4 separate regions of the Homo sapiens genome follow, and all the other regions are linked to region 1. Evidence: promoter capture Hi-C in 16 types of primary human blood cells and fetal thymus (Javierre and others, 2016). All regions are on one chromosome and are shown on one strand. Each heading gives the region's core, a stretch centred on a gene start or on the middle of the fragment in contact. The rest is flanking DNA. Distances are from core to core; before and after follow the strand shown.

Evidence for each region. Contacts are between HindIII fragments. The CHiCAGO score rates a contact against its expected background, and 5 or more counts as called.
Region 2: a contact is called between the fragment with the promoter of RCN3 here and a fragment that was not itself captured in region 1, in 2 of 17 cell types (naive B cells and total B cells). The highest score is 6.4, in naive B cells.
Region 3: the fragment with the promoter of FLT3LG here is called in contact with a fragment that was not itself captured in region 1 in 2 of 17 cell types (naive B cells and total B cells); the score reaches 7.8 in naive B cells.
Region 4: a contact is called between the fragment with the promoter of PRMT1 here and a fragment that was not itself captured in region 1, in 5 of 17 cell types (naive CD4 T cells, naive CD8 T cells, total CD8 T cells and 2 more). The highest score is 6.8, in naive CD4 T cells.

Annotation. Positions count from the first base shown.
Region 1 is chr19:49,205,795-49,208,893 of GRCh38, forward strand. The region is part of intron 20 of TRPM4 (transient receptor potential cation channel subfamily M member 4); the gene reads left to right. Among named protein-coding and RNA genes, the nearest start is that of TRPM4, 50 kb to the left of the region's middle. The HindIII fragment of the contact is 201 bases long and covers 1,242-1,442 here.
Region 2 is chr19:49,526,619-49,529,890 of GRCh38, forward strand. It overlaps RCN3 (reticulocalbin 3), which reads left to right and starts at 1,385. Exons shown (of 7, transcript NM_020650.3): 1 at 1,385-1,440; 2 at 1,849-2,096. The coding sequence starts at 1,855. RefSeq lists an enhancer at 1,301-1,879 and a silencer at 1,343-1,462. The HindIII fragment of the contact is 8,718 bases long and covers 1-1,725 here.
Region 3 is chr19:49,472,675-49,475,650 of GRCh38, forward strand. It overlaps FLT3LG (fms related receptor tyrosine kinase 3 ligand), which reads left to right and starts at 1,541. Exons shown (of 9, transcript NM_001459.4): 1 at 1,541-1,607; 2 at 1,929-1,998. The coding sequence starts at 1,966. RefSeq lists a silencer at 1,920-1,999. The HindIII fragment of the contact is 13,906 bases long and covers 1-2,976 here.
Region 4 is chr19:49,675,549-49,678,672 of GRCh38, forward strand. PRMT1 (protein arginine methyltransferase 1) reads left to right here and starts at 1,723. Exons shown (of 11, transcript NM_001536.6): 1 at 1,723-1,768. The coding sequence starts at 1,733. RefSeq lists enhancers at 1,208-1,357, 1,362-2,093 and a silencer at 1,938-2,217. The HindIII fragment of the contact is 22,690 bases long and covers 1,389-3,124 here.

The DNA.
Region 1 (3,099 bases), core at 92-2,591:
CAAAGTGCTGGGATTACAGCCGTGAGCCACTGGACCCGGCCGGACTTCAACATATCTTTAGCGGGATACAATTCAATGCATGACACTCATAGATTTATGAGTTTATTTCTGGACTTTCAATTCTATTCCACTGGATTGCGTCTATCCTTATGCCAGAACCACACAGTTTTTTGGGTTTTTTTTGAGACGGAGTCTCGCTCTTGTCACCCAGGCGGGATTGCAGTGGCACGATCTCTGCTCACTGCAACATCCGCATCCTGGATTCAAACGATTCTCCTAACTCAGCCTCCTGAGTAGCTGGGATTACAGGCACCTGCCACCACGCCCGGCTAATTTTTTTGTATTTTTGGTAGAGACAGGGTTTCACCATGTTGGCCAGGCTAGTCTTGAACTCCTGACCTCAGGTGATCTGCCTCGGCTTTCCAAGGTGCTGGGATTACAGGCGTGAGCCACCATGTCTAGCCCACACAGTGTTGATTACTGTAGGTTTGTAGCAAATTTTGACATTGGAAGTATGAGTCTCCTTTGTTATTTTTCAAGATTGTTTTGGCTATTCTGGGCCTCCTGCAATTCTATATGAACTTAAAGATCAGAGTTTCCATGTCTGTCAAAAAGGTTGTTGGAATTTTCTTTTTTTTTCCTTTTTTTTTTTTCTTTTTTTTGAGACAGAGTTTCACTCTTGTTGCCCAGGCTGGAGTGCAATGGCGCGATCTCAGCTCACCACAACCTCTGCCTCCCGGGCTCAAGCGATTCTCCTGCCTCAGCCTCCTGAGTAGCTGGGCTTATAGGCATGTGCCACCACGCCCGGCTAATTTTGTATTTTTAGTAGAGACAGGGTTTCTCCATGTTGGTCAGGCTGGTCTCGAACTCCCGACCTCAGGTGATCCACCCGCCTTGGCCTCCCAAAGTTCTGGGATTACAGGTGTGAGCCACCGCGCCCGGCCAGTTGTTGGAATTTTCCGAGGGATTGCGTTGAATCTGTAGATTGCTTCGGGTAGTATTGATATTTCATCTAGGTGTTCTTTTTAATGCTTTTCCAGCAGTATTTGGTAGTTTTCAGGCTACAAATTGTTCACCCTTTTGGTTAACTTTATTCCTAGGTGCTTAACCTTTAGATACTGTTGTAAGTGGAATTGCTTTCTTAATTTCCTTTTTGGATTGTTCATTGCGGGTGTGTAGAAACACAACTGATTTTTGTGTGATCTTGTACCCTGCAACTTTGCTGAATCTGCAGCCCTAGAAGCTTTCTTGTGATTCTCTGGCATTTCCTATATATAGGATCATGTCATCTGTGAATAGAGATATTTTTACTTCTTCCTTTCCAATTTGGATGCCTTTTATTTTTTTTCTTGTTTAATTGTTCTAGCCAGAACTTCCAGCACAATGTGGAATAGCAGTGGTAAAAGTGGACATCCTTGTCTTGTCCCTGATCTTAGGCAGAAAGCTTTCACTCTTTCACCATTGGGTATGACGGTAGCTGTGGGTTTTTCAGAAGTACCTTTTCTCATGTTGAGAAAGTTTATTTCTATTCCTAGTTTACGATTTTTAAAAATTATGATGCATGGTGGCTTGTGCCTGCAATCACAATACTTTAGGGAGCCAAAGTGGGAGGATCACTTGAGGCCAGGAGTTCAAGACCGACCTGGGCAACATAGTGAGACCTTATCTCAATAAAAAAATAAAAAATTTGCCAGGCGTGGTGGTGCATGCCTGTAGTCCCAGCTACTCAAGAGGCTGAGGTGGGAGGAAGGCTTGAGCCCAGGAGGTCAAGGCTGTGGCTTCAGTGAGCCATGATTTCACCACCATCATGATTGTGCCACCAACAGAGTGAAACCTTGTCTCAAAAAAAAAAAAAAAAAAAAAAAGCCATGCATGGTGGCTCAAGCCTGCAATCCCAGCACTTTGGGAGGCCGAGGTGGGCAGATCATGAGGTCAGGAGATCGAGACCATCCTGGCTAACACGGTTGTAGGGGCCAGCCCTACAAGGTCTGTGGGTTTTTCTCCCCGTGTGCAGAGACAAGAGATTGTAGAAATGAAGACACAAGACAAAGAGATCAAAGAAAAGACAGCTGGGCCTGGGGGACCACTACCACCAAGACGTGGAGACCGACAGTGGCCCCTAATGCCTGGCTGCGCTGTTATTTATTGGATACAAAGCAAAAGGGGCAGGGTAAAGAGTGTGAGTCATCTCCAATGATTGATAAGGTCACGTGAGTCACATGTCCACTGGACAGGGGCCCTTCCCTGTTAGGTAGCCAAGGCGGAGAGAGAGAGGACAGCTTACATCATTATTTCTTCTATGCTCTTTTAAGAAAGATCAAAGACTTTAATACTTTAATACTTTCACTAATTTTGCTACTGCTATCTAGAGGGCAGAGCCAGCTGTACAGAGTGGAACATGAAAGTGAAACAGGAGTGTGACCGCTGAAGCACAGCATCACAGGGAGACGGTTAGGCCCCTGGATAACTGCGGGCGGGCCTGACATCAGTCAGGCCCTCCACAAGAGGTGGTGGAGCAGTCTTCTCTAAACTCCCCCGGGGAAAGGGAGACTCCCTTTCCCGGTCTGCTAAGTAGTGGGTGCTTTTCCTTGGCACTGACGCTACCTCTAGACCACGGTCCGCTTGGTAACGGGAATCTTCCCAGATGCTGGCGTTACCGCTAGACCAAGGAGCCCTCTGGTGGCCCTGTCCAGGAATAACAGAAGGCTCACACTCTGTCTTCTGGTCACTTCTCATCATGCCCCTTCAGCTCCTATCTCTGTATGGCTTGGTTTTTCCTAGGTTATGATTGTAAAGCAAGGATTATTATAATATTGAAATAAAGAGTAATTGCTACAAACTAATGATTGATATTCATATATAATCATATCTATGATCTATATCTAGTATAACTCTTGTTATTTTATATGTTTTATTACACTGGAACAGCTTGTGCCCTCGGTCTCTTGCCTTGGCACCTGGGTGGCTTGCCGCCCACACATGGTGAAACCCCATCTTTACTAAAAATACAAAAAGTTAGCTGAGCGTGGTGGTGGGTGCCTGTAGTCCCAGCTACTCAGGAGGCTGAGGCAAGAGAATGGCATGAACCCAGGAGGCGGA
Region 2 (3,272 bases), core at 135-2,634, 320 kb after region 1:
AGCTGGGACTACAGGCGCCTGCCACCATGCCTGGCTAATTTTTTGTATTTTTAGTACAGACGGGGTTTCACCATGTTAGCCAGGATGGTCTCGATCTCCTGACCTCATGATCCACCCGCCTCTGCCTCCCAAAGGGGTGGGATTACAAGTGTGAGCCACCGCGCCCGGCCTAAGGTCACTTTTTTTTTTTTTTTTTAAGACAGAGTTTTGCTCTTGTTGCTCAGACTGGAGTACAATTGCGTGATCTCAGCTCACTGCAACCTCCGCCTCCCAGGTTCAAGCAATTCTCCTGCCTCCCAAGTAGCTGGGATTACAGGCATGCACCACCACACCCGGCTAATTTTTTGTATTTAGTAGAGACGGGGTTTCACCATGTTGGTCAGGCTGGTCTGGAACTCCTGACCTCAGGTGATCCACCTGCCTCAGCTTCCCAAAGTTCTGGGATTACAGGCATTGAGCTACTGTGCTCAACCTGAGGTCATGTATTTTTAATTCATAACTTTTACAAATATTTACTGGATGACTGCCATGCCAGGCATTTTGAGGAATTCTTGGCTACTGTCTGACCACCTGAATCCTTGGAGCCGAAGAGGAGCGAGGAGCAGTGTTCACTCTTGGAGGAAATGGGATATTTCCTCCGGCCCCTTGATTCTGCTCTCCCTTTTCTTTTCTTTTCTTTTCTTTCTTTTTTTTTTTGAGACGGAGTTTCGCTCTTGTTGCCCAGGCTGGAATGCAATGGTGCGATCTCGGCTCACCACAACCTCCGCCTCCCAGGTTCAAGCAATTCTCCTGCCTCAGCCTCCCAAAGTAGCTGGGATTAAAGACATGCGCCACCACACCCGGCTAATTTTGTATGTTTAGTAGAGATGGGGTTTCTCCGTGTTGATCAGGCTGGTCTCGAACTCCCGACCTCAGGCGATCCGCCCGCCTCGGCCTCCCAAAGTTCTGGGATTACAGGCGTGAGCCACCGCGCCCGGCCTTTTTTCTTTTCTTTCGTTCTTTTTGTTTATTTTTGTTTTGTTTTGTTTTGTTTGGTATAGAAGTGTTGGAACGTACACCTCTTTCTTAAACCATCCTGACAAAGGGAAAGGGAAAAATACATTTCCCGTGAGGCGTTGTGACTAGAACAGCTGGAGGTGGACGGCAGAGTGCCGCGACGACTGCCAGGAGTTGTAGTTCTCCCCGGCCGCGTCACTGCGGTGTCGCCCACCCTTCTTCCCCGGGCAGGCCGCGGTTTCCTTTGTGGACGTGGCGAGGAGTGCCCGCGGCACCCCGTGCACTCATTGGCCCCGCCCCGTGAGACGCTCGTGCGAGCTCATTGGGCGGGGGGCGGGGCTCTGCGCTGCCAGAGGCGGGGCCTGACTGGAGAGCGGCCGAATTGGGCACATTTGCGGGAACGCAGAGCGGAGCGTGGAGAGCGGAGCGAAGCTGGATAACAGGGTAAAGGGAGTGGGTGGGGGGCCTCTGTCCAGGGAGGGCGGCTCGGGTCGAGGACCAGGGTCCGGACTGGGAGCAATGACGGGGAGCCTGCCTGACCTCTCGCTGGCCACAACTATGCCCTGCACCTTGCGTGGGATGTGCGCCACGTCTGTCTCTGTAATTCCCCCTGGCAGGTCTGGGACCCCCCTGAGACTCCGTCAGAAGATTCGGTCCTCCCCATAGGTGGCTTTACCTCTAAGCATCCCGCCCTCTTTTCCCCCATCGCCCGCCCTTTTTGAGCCCGAAAGCTTGCAGCCAACTTCCAACTCCCTGTCCTGTCCTAGGTAACCCCTCCACCCCGCCATTCTCCTATCCCGTGTCTGTCCCCATCCCTGTGACCCCTGACCCCTGGCCTTTGCCACTCCCCAGGGACCGATGATGTGGCGACCATCAGTTCTGCTGCTTCTGTTGCTACTGAGGCACGGGGCCCAGGGGAAGCCATCCCCAGACGCAGGCCCTCATGGCCAGGGGAGGGTGCACCAGGCGGCCCCCCTGAGCGACGCTCCCCATGATGACGCCCACGGGAACTTCCAGTACGACCATGAGGCTTTCCTGGGACGGGAAGTGGCCAAGGAATTCGACCAACTCACCCCAGAGGAAAGCCAGGCCCGTCTGGGGTAAGAGAGACATTCGGTTGGGGCGTGTCCAGAGGTGGGGCTTAGGAGAGAGACGCGGGGGTATCGACAGGGGTCAGAGAAATGGCGTGGACTGAACTTCATTTCTTTGTGAGAAATGAAATTCTACCTTCTATCCTTGGGAAAAAGAAATTAAGTTAAAATTGAGGCCTAAAGAGGACCTTTGAGACCGGGCGTGGTGGCTCATGCCTGTAATCCCAGCACTTTGGGAGGCCAAGGCAGGCCGATCACTTGAGGTCAGGAGTTCGAGAACAGCCTGGCCAACATGGTGAAATCCCGTCTCTACTAAAAATACAAAATTAGGCAGGCGTGGTGGTGGGCACCTGTAATCCCAGCTACTCGGGAGGCTGAGGCAGGAGAATCGCTTGAACCTGGGAGGTGGAGGTTGCAGTGAGCCAAAATTGCACCACTGCCCTCCAGTCAGGGCGACAAAGTGAGACTCCGTCTAAAAAACAACAACAACAATAAAAAAGAGGACCTTTGAGGGCAGCAAAATCTGGGTTAGATTCTGCCCCCTAAGCGCTCCTTATTCTTTTGTCCCAGACATCTCCCCTCCCCAAGCCTCAGTTTCCTGCTCTGTAAATGGCAGGGACTGGTGTGGAAAATGAGGTTTGGCCTTTAAGGAGCCCGGCCAGTGCAGGAGAGTGGCAGAGCCCTGAGTTTCAGGGTGAGCTGGGTGGAATGGAGCCCTGTCCACCCTCTCCGTCCAGGCCTGAGCGCAGGGGGGCGCGATGGGAGCAGCCGCCTTCTTCTGTGCATCCTCCTGACACTGATTGAGCCTGCAAAGGTTTATCGAGCACCTGCTATGTGCCAGGCACTGCTCTAGGTGCTGAAGTCACAACAGCTAACACATCTGTCCTCCTGAAGTTTACACTGTGGTGAGGGAAACAGCAAGAAGTCAATAAGTAGAAAGTGGATCAAATAGAGATAAATGCATCCAAGAAAGATAAAGCAAGAGAGTCAGAAAGTGTGGAGGGGAGAGGTTGTTGGTGGGGGGGAGTTGCAATTTTTATTTATTTATTTATTTATTTATTTACTTATTGAGATGGAGTCTCGCTCTGTCACCCAGGCTGGAGTGCAGTGGTGCGATCTCGGCTCACTGCAACCTCCACCTCCTGGGCTCAAGCAATTGTCCTGTCTCAGCCTCCCAAGTAGCTG
Region 3 (2,976 bases), core at 291-2,790, 270 kb after region 1:
GCAGGAGAATTGCTTGAACCTGGGAGGCAGAGGGGGAGCTTGCAGTGAGCCAAGATCGTGCCACTGCACTCCAGCCTGGGCAACACAGCGAGACTCGGTCTCAAAAAAAAAAGAGAGAGAGAGAGGAGTCTTCTGGAAGGCTACAGAGATTCCCTAGAGGCAATAGGGCGATAGGGCAGGACACACATTGAGGGGCCCCAGGACTTGGTCAGGAAGGAGCTAGAGCAGGTCCTTTGTCCATGGGCCACATGAGCTATTGGGGCTTGTATCTCTGCCTCTCTGCTTCATTTAAATCTTTCTAGCCAGATGGAAGGTCTGACCATTGGGTGCGACAAGGCAGCTAACCCAGGCTGAACAGGAAGTGAGGCAGGCAGAGGGATCAGGGAAGGGAAATGGATGATGAAGGCCAGGACGGGCGAGGCTTTGCTGCAGTAACACATAACCCCCGAATCTGCGTGGGCCACAACCACAACATTAGTTTGTTGCTTACACTCCCTGTGCTCATCCGGGGCTGGCAGGATCCCTGTGCTCCTCCGAGTGGCACAGGAAACTTGGCTGATAGAGGCGCTCTCTCCATGCATCCTCCACCATCCACTCCCCGGTCCCTTAGACTTCCATTCAGAAGTGACACCTGTCACCTCCACCCTCATGTGACTGGCCAAAGTGAGTGTGGCCATGTCCGAGTTCCCCAGGATGGGACCTCGAATCCTCCTGCTGGGGGGGTGGGGGCAGCAGATGTTTCAGGACAGTCTGCCACGGATCAGATGGGTGAGCAAGAGATTCAGGATGGGCGTGATGGGTCACACCTGTAATCCCAGCATTTTGGGAGGCCGAGGCAGGCTGATCACCTGAGGTCAGGAGTTCGAGATCAGCCTGGCCAACATAGTGAAACCTCGTCTCTACTAAAAATACAAAAATTAGCCGGGCATGGTGGCACGCACCTGCAATTCCAGCTACTTGGGAGCCTGAGGCACAAGAATTGCTTAAGCCCAGGAGGCGGAGGTTGCCGTGAGCCGAGACTGTGCCACTGCACTCCAGCCTGGGCAACAGAGTGAGACCCCATCTAAAAAAAAAAAATGCTTCAGAGATTCAGAGATCCACAGATGTGGAAGAGAGCTTCTATTTTGTCTCATGTACCACCTCACCCCTCAGTTTGGAGTTGGAGAAGCCGAGGCTTAGAGAGGTCAAGGGGCTGGCCAAGCTCCCACAGTGATAAAGCTAGTGCTAGGGCGACACCTGCCAGGCCCAATGTGACAAGATGCATCCTGAGTCCTGTGTGCCAAGCCTTGGCGGGGCAAAGTTGGGGCCCGGAGGACGGTAAGACACAGCAACTGCGAGTTCCCAGAGACAGATCCGGGTTCCAGCCCCAGCTCACCATGCACTGGGCGTGCCACCCAGGGAGTCAGCCCCACTGCAGCCCCCGCTGCGGGGCGTCCGGAGAACGCGCCATCTGCGGCGTGAGCGGCCGCCTCTCACCACCAGGGGGCGCGCTCCGCCTGGGCCCAGATTCCACCCCTTGACTGTCTCCCCCCAAAAATTTCCTTTCACTTTCGGTCTCTGGCTGTCACCCGGCTTGGCCCCTTCCACACCCAACTGGGGCAAGCCTGGTGCGTGAGGAGACTTGGACTCTAGGTCCCCAAGGGGCGGAGCCAGGGTCCCCACTCCTGGGGCAGGGGGAGCAGAGGGTGGGGGGCTGGGTTCCCGGGTCCCTAACCTGGGGAGGGTTCTGGGGACCAGACGTCGAGGTTCTTAGAAGTGGAGATGAAGAGTTTTCACCGTAACTGGGGCAGACGCAGGAAGCCTGGGGGAGGAAGGGGCGGAAACTCAGCCACATCAATGGGACGCGGGAGGGGCGGGGAGGCAAAGGGGCGGGCAGGGCAGGGGCTGGGGCATGAGGGTCCGAGACTTGTTCTTCTGTCCCTTCCAAGACCCGGCGACAGGAGGCATGAGGGGCCCCCGGCCGAAATGACAGTGCTGGCGCCAGCCTGGAGCCCAACAGTGCGTAAACCCCAGGGACAAGATCAGGGGAGAGGGGAGGCACAATGTCAGGATGGGGCAGAGATGAGGGGAGATGGACGGGAGAACAGATGGACAGATGACGAGGAAATAGGAGGGGAGATGGACAGATGTGAGGGGAGATGGATAGGAGAGGAGACGGACAGAGGAGGGGGAGATGGACAGAGGATGGGGAGATGGACAGAGGAGGGGGAGATAGAGGAGAGGGAGATAGAGAGGAGTGGGAGATGGACAGGAGCGGGGAGATGGACAGAGGAGGGGGAGATGGACAGAGGAGAGGGCAGATGAACAGAGGAGAGGGAGATAAAGAGGAGGGAGGTGGACAGGAGGAGGGAGATGGACAGAGAAGGGGGAGATGGACAGAGGTGGGGGAGATGGACAGGAGGGAAGATGGAGAGGAGGGGGTATGGACAGAGGAGAGGGGAGATGGACAGGAGGGGGAGATGGACAGAGGAGAGGGAGATGAAGAGGAGGGGGAGGTGGACAGGAGGAGGGAGACGGACAGAGGAGAGGAAGAGAGACAGAGGAGGGGGGAGATGGACAGAGGAGGGGGAGATGGACAGAAAAGGGGGGAGATGGACAGAGGAGAGGGAAGGTGGACAGAGCCAAGAACAAATGAAGAGGACGTGGACCAAGATCAAGAGAGAAGCAGGCAACAGTGGTGTAGAAGGCAGAGGGAGGGACAGAGCTGGAGGAACCCGGGCGAGGAAACCAGACGTGAAGATGAGGTGGTTGGAGAGAGACCAGCAGAGTGGGGGAGATGGGGAGAGAGAGGGGTGGGGCAGAGGGGGATGCAAACTGGACAGCATTGGACCAGAGGCAGAGAGAAACCGGGAAAGACAGGCAGAGATGGGGCCATGTCTCCAGAAAGTGTGGAAGAGGCAGAAGGACACCCAGGGAAGGAGGAGCGGGGAAGACAGAACAGTACAGGTGGGAAGCCCGGAGGAGGGGGCTGTGTGT
Region 4 (3,124 bases), core at 473-2,972, 470 kb after region 1:
GCCTCTGGAGCAGCTGGGACTACAGGCGCCCACCACCACACCCGGCTAATTTTTGTTTTTTTAGTAGAGACGGGGGTTTCACCATATTGGCTAGGCTGGTCTCGAACTCCTGAGCTTGTGATCCGCCCACCTCAGCCTTCCAAAATGCTGGGATTACAGGCGTGAGTCACCGCGCCCGGCCAAATTTTTTTTTTTTTTTTTTTTGAGACAAGAGTCTCGCTCTGTCACCCAGGCTGGAGTGCAGTGGCGCGATCTCAGCTCACTGCAAGCTCCGCCTCCCGGGTTCACGCCATCCTCCTGCCTAAGCCTCCACGCCCGGCTAATTTTTTGTATTTTTAGTAGAGACGGGGGTTTCACCATGTTAGCCAGGATGGTCTCGACCTCCTGACCTTGTGATCCGCCCGCCTCGGTCTCCCAAAATGCTGGGATTACAGGCGTGAGCCACCGCGCCCGGCCGCCTGGCGTAATTTTTGTATTTTTAATAGAAATGGGGGTTTCACCATGTTGCCCAGACTGGTCTCGAACTCCTGATGTCAAGTGATCCGCCTGCCTCCGCCTCCTAAAGTGCTGGAATTACACCCGTGAGCCATCGCGCCCGAACCCTATTGTAAATTTTAAGTCTCAGGCGTTTGCCAGCGGCACGCCAGAGAGTATAGCCTGCGCGGAGGCCCAGAAACCAAAGAGCGAGCTCATTCCGGGATTGGAGAGAAGTGTGAGCAGAGGGAAGTAGAGGGATCGGGGAGAGGAGGGGCAGGACCCACGCATTCGGCCCTTTGCATTCAGCTTCATTCAACTAGGAACTTTTTCTGCAAATCAAGGAAAGCTTCCCGGAGGAAGTGGTGCCTAAGCTGTGCTCTGATTCACGTTTAGAAGCTGACCAGACAAAGAGAGGTGGGCGTTCCTGGCAGGGGGAGGGACTTGGCAAAAACCAAGTGGCTTGAGAGGGGTTGATGGTTTTAAAAAACTTGGAATGATTATGTCAAGGGCTAGGGATTTAATGTGTTGACGACGGACTCCTATTCCTCACTTGCTTCGGGACCCCAGCTATGCCCTTCCTCTCTCTGGGCCTCTCACCGATTCCGTTTTTCCCCCAGGTAATGAGCACAAGCTCCCTTTTTCCTCCAGACTCCCCCCGGGTTGGGAGGATCCACCGAGTGGACGAGGAGTGATAATTCCTTTGAGCCAATCGTTGGTGCCTGAAGCCCCGCCTTCTTCCCTACCCGTGGGCCAATTGCCGTGTTCTCCTTGAGGCCGGCCGCTTGGCGAGGGTGGGCCAAAGGCTGCGTGACGTCGCTTCCGGATAAACCAATGGCAGCGATTAGGAGGCGGGTCGTTTTGGTGATGGACAGGTGTTTCAAGACGCCCCTTTAGCGCGGGGCTCCCCGGGAAGCTTTGAGGCGGTGCTGGGTGTAAAGGGGAGGGCATTCCTGGTGGATTTTGCCCAATCACCAGTCGCGCTTCTTGCAATAGACGGGCAGTTTTCCCCATCCCGGGTCGACTTGAGGGGGCGGGATTCTGGACGCCAGAGTTGGCAAACCCCTGACCTATGATGGACGTATTCTCTAGCCAATTACTAGACGGTATTCTCAGACGGGCCGCCTCCATTGCCAATGAAATCTTCCAGCGGGGTCGCGGTAGGCGGGCCGTGGACCCTCTGGTATAAGGCGGTCCCGGGGGAGTGAGGAGAAAGGGGGGGTCTTGGCGGCCGGAGGAGGAGTAGGTGCGGGTGAAGATGGCGGCAGCCGAGGCCGCGAACTGCATCATGGAGGTGAGCGCTTGGAGCGCCGCCGTGGGCGGGAGGCGGCTTTGGGTCGGTGTTTCACGCCTCTGTGGTGGGGAAAGGGCTCTAAGTTGGCGATATGGGGTTGGAGGTCCCCCGCCGCACACGGGGGCGCCGCACGTTCCACATCCGGGGATATCGTTTGAGGTGACGGCTCCCTAGCTTCCAAGGGCCTTCGGCATCCGGCCTAGCGGAGGGTCTTATCCCCCCTCCCACGTGGAGGAGGGCTGGGGGCGCTTCCGGCCAGGCCCCCACGTGGCCGCTGCGCGGTGGGTGGGGAGGGGGTGTGCCGAGTCCAGTGGCCCGGCGGGCTCCACGTGCGGGACAAAGGCCCCGCCCCCGGCCGGGGAGGGGCGCCCAGGGGGGCGGGGAGGGGGTCCGACCCTCCTGACGCCCCCAGCCCTCCTCCCCGGGGACCTGGGCACACGCCGTGGGGTGTGATCGACCTGGGGCCCTCCACGATGTGGGGAGTCTCTTGGGAGGAGCAGTGCTTCTCAGCCCTTTACCAACCTCCTTCCGAGCTCCGGGGGCATCTGTTGGGATATCGGACCCGGTTTTGTGCGTTCTGGGTTAGGGACTGGAGGAAAACCAAGAATGGGGTCCCCCGCCGACCCCGTTTCCCCTCCCAGAATTCTCCCCCTCGCCCAGGGCTTTAGGAGTTGGGGGATGGGGCATGCCCCTGTGACCTCCCTCTGGGTGGTGGTGGGGCATCTAGATAGAGATTTTCCCATTAATAGGCGCCGTGCACCCCCTTGTGGCCATTTCTGGGTGTGTGGGAGGGACATCTTTTTCATGGGGCGTGTCCTGAAGCCCACCTCCCCTCGGATTTCTTCCTGGCGGGCGGAGGGAGGAGGGTATGTCCGCTGGGAAGGAGTTGTGGGAAATATGTAGGCTGAGAGCTTTACCCTACTGGAGCCGTTTATCTCCCCCGGGTCTTTGTGAGGGTGCGAGATGACCTCCTTCTTCCTGAAGCCCTGTGCAGGGTCCTGAGCCCTGGGGTCCTGAGAGTGGGTGCCTGAAATGGTTTCGAGTGAGGTTTGGTTCTCGTGCAGCCATGTGGGGGAGGTTTCAGTCTTGCGTTTCAAGCCCTCTGGGGCTGGGGTTGTCTGGCGGTAGTTTTCAGTGGTATTGAGAAATAGGCCCGAGTGGGAAACCCCCTCAGCACCTTTCTTCTTATAGGCATCCCCGCTAGCTTGGGAGAGCTGGAGGGAGGGTGCTTGGAGCCTAGTAGGTCATGGCCTGTGACGTGGCCCTTCTTGGAGACTTGGATAGTGGTCACATCTGGAAGAGATGTAATCTGATGGGGCCTCTGTCCTTCCACCCCTTACCTATGGCATTGGCTGG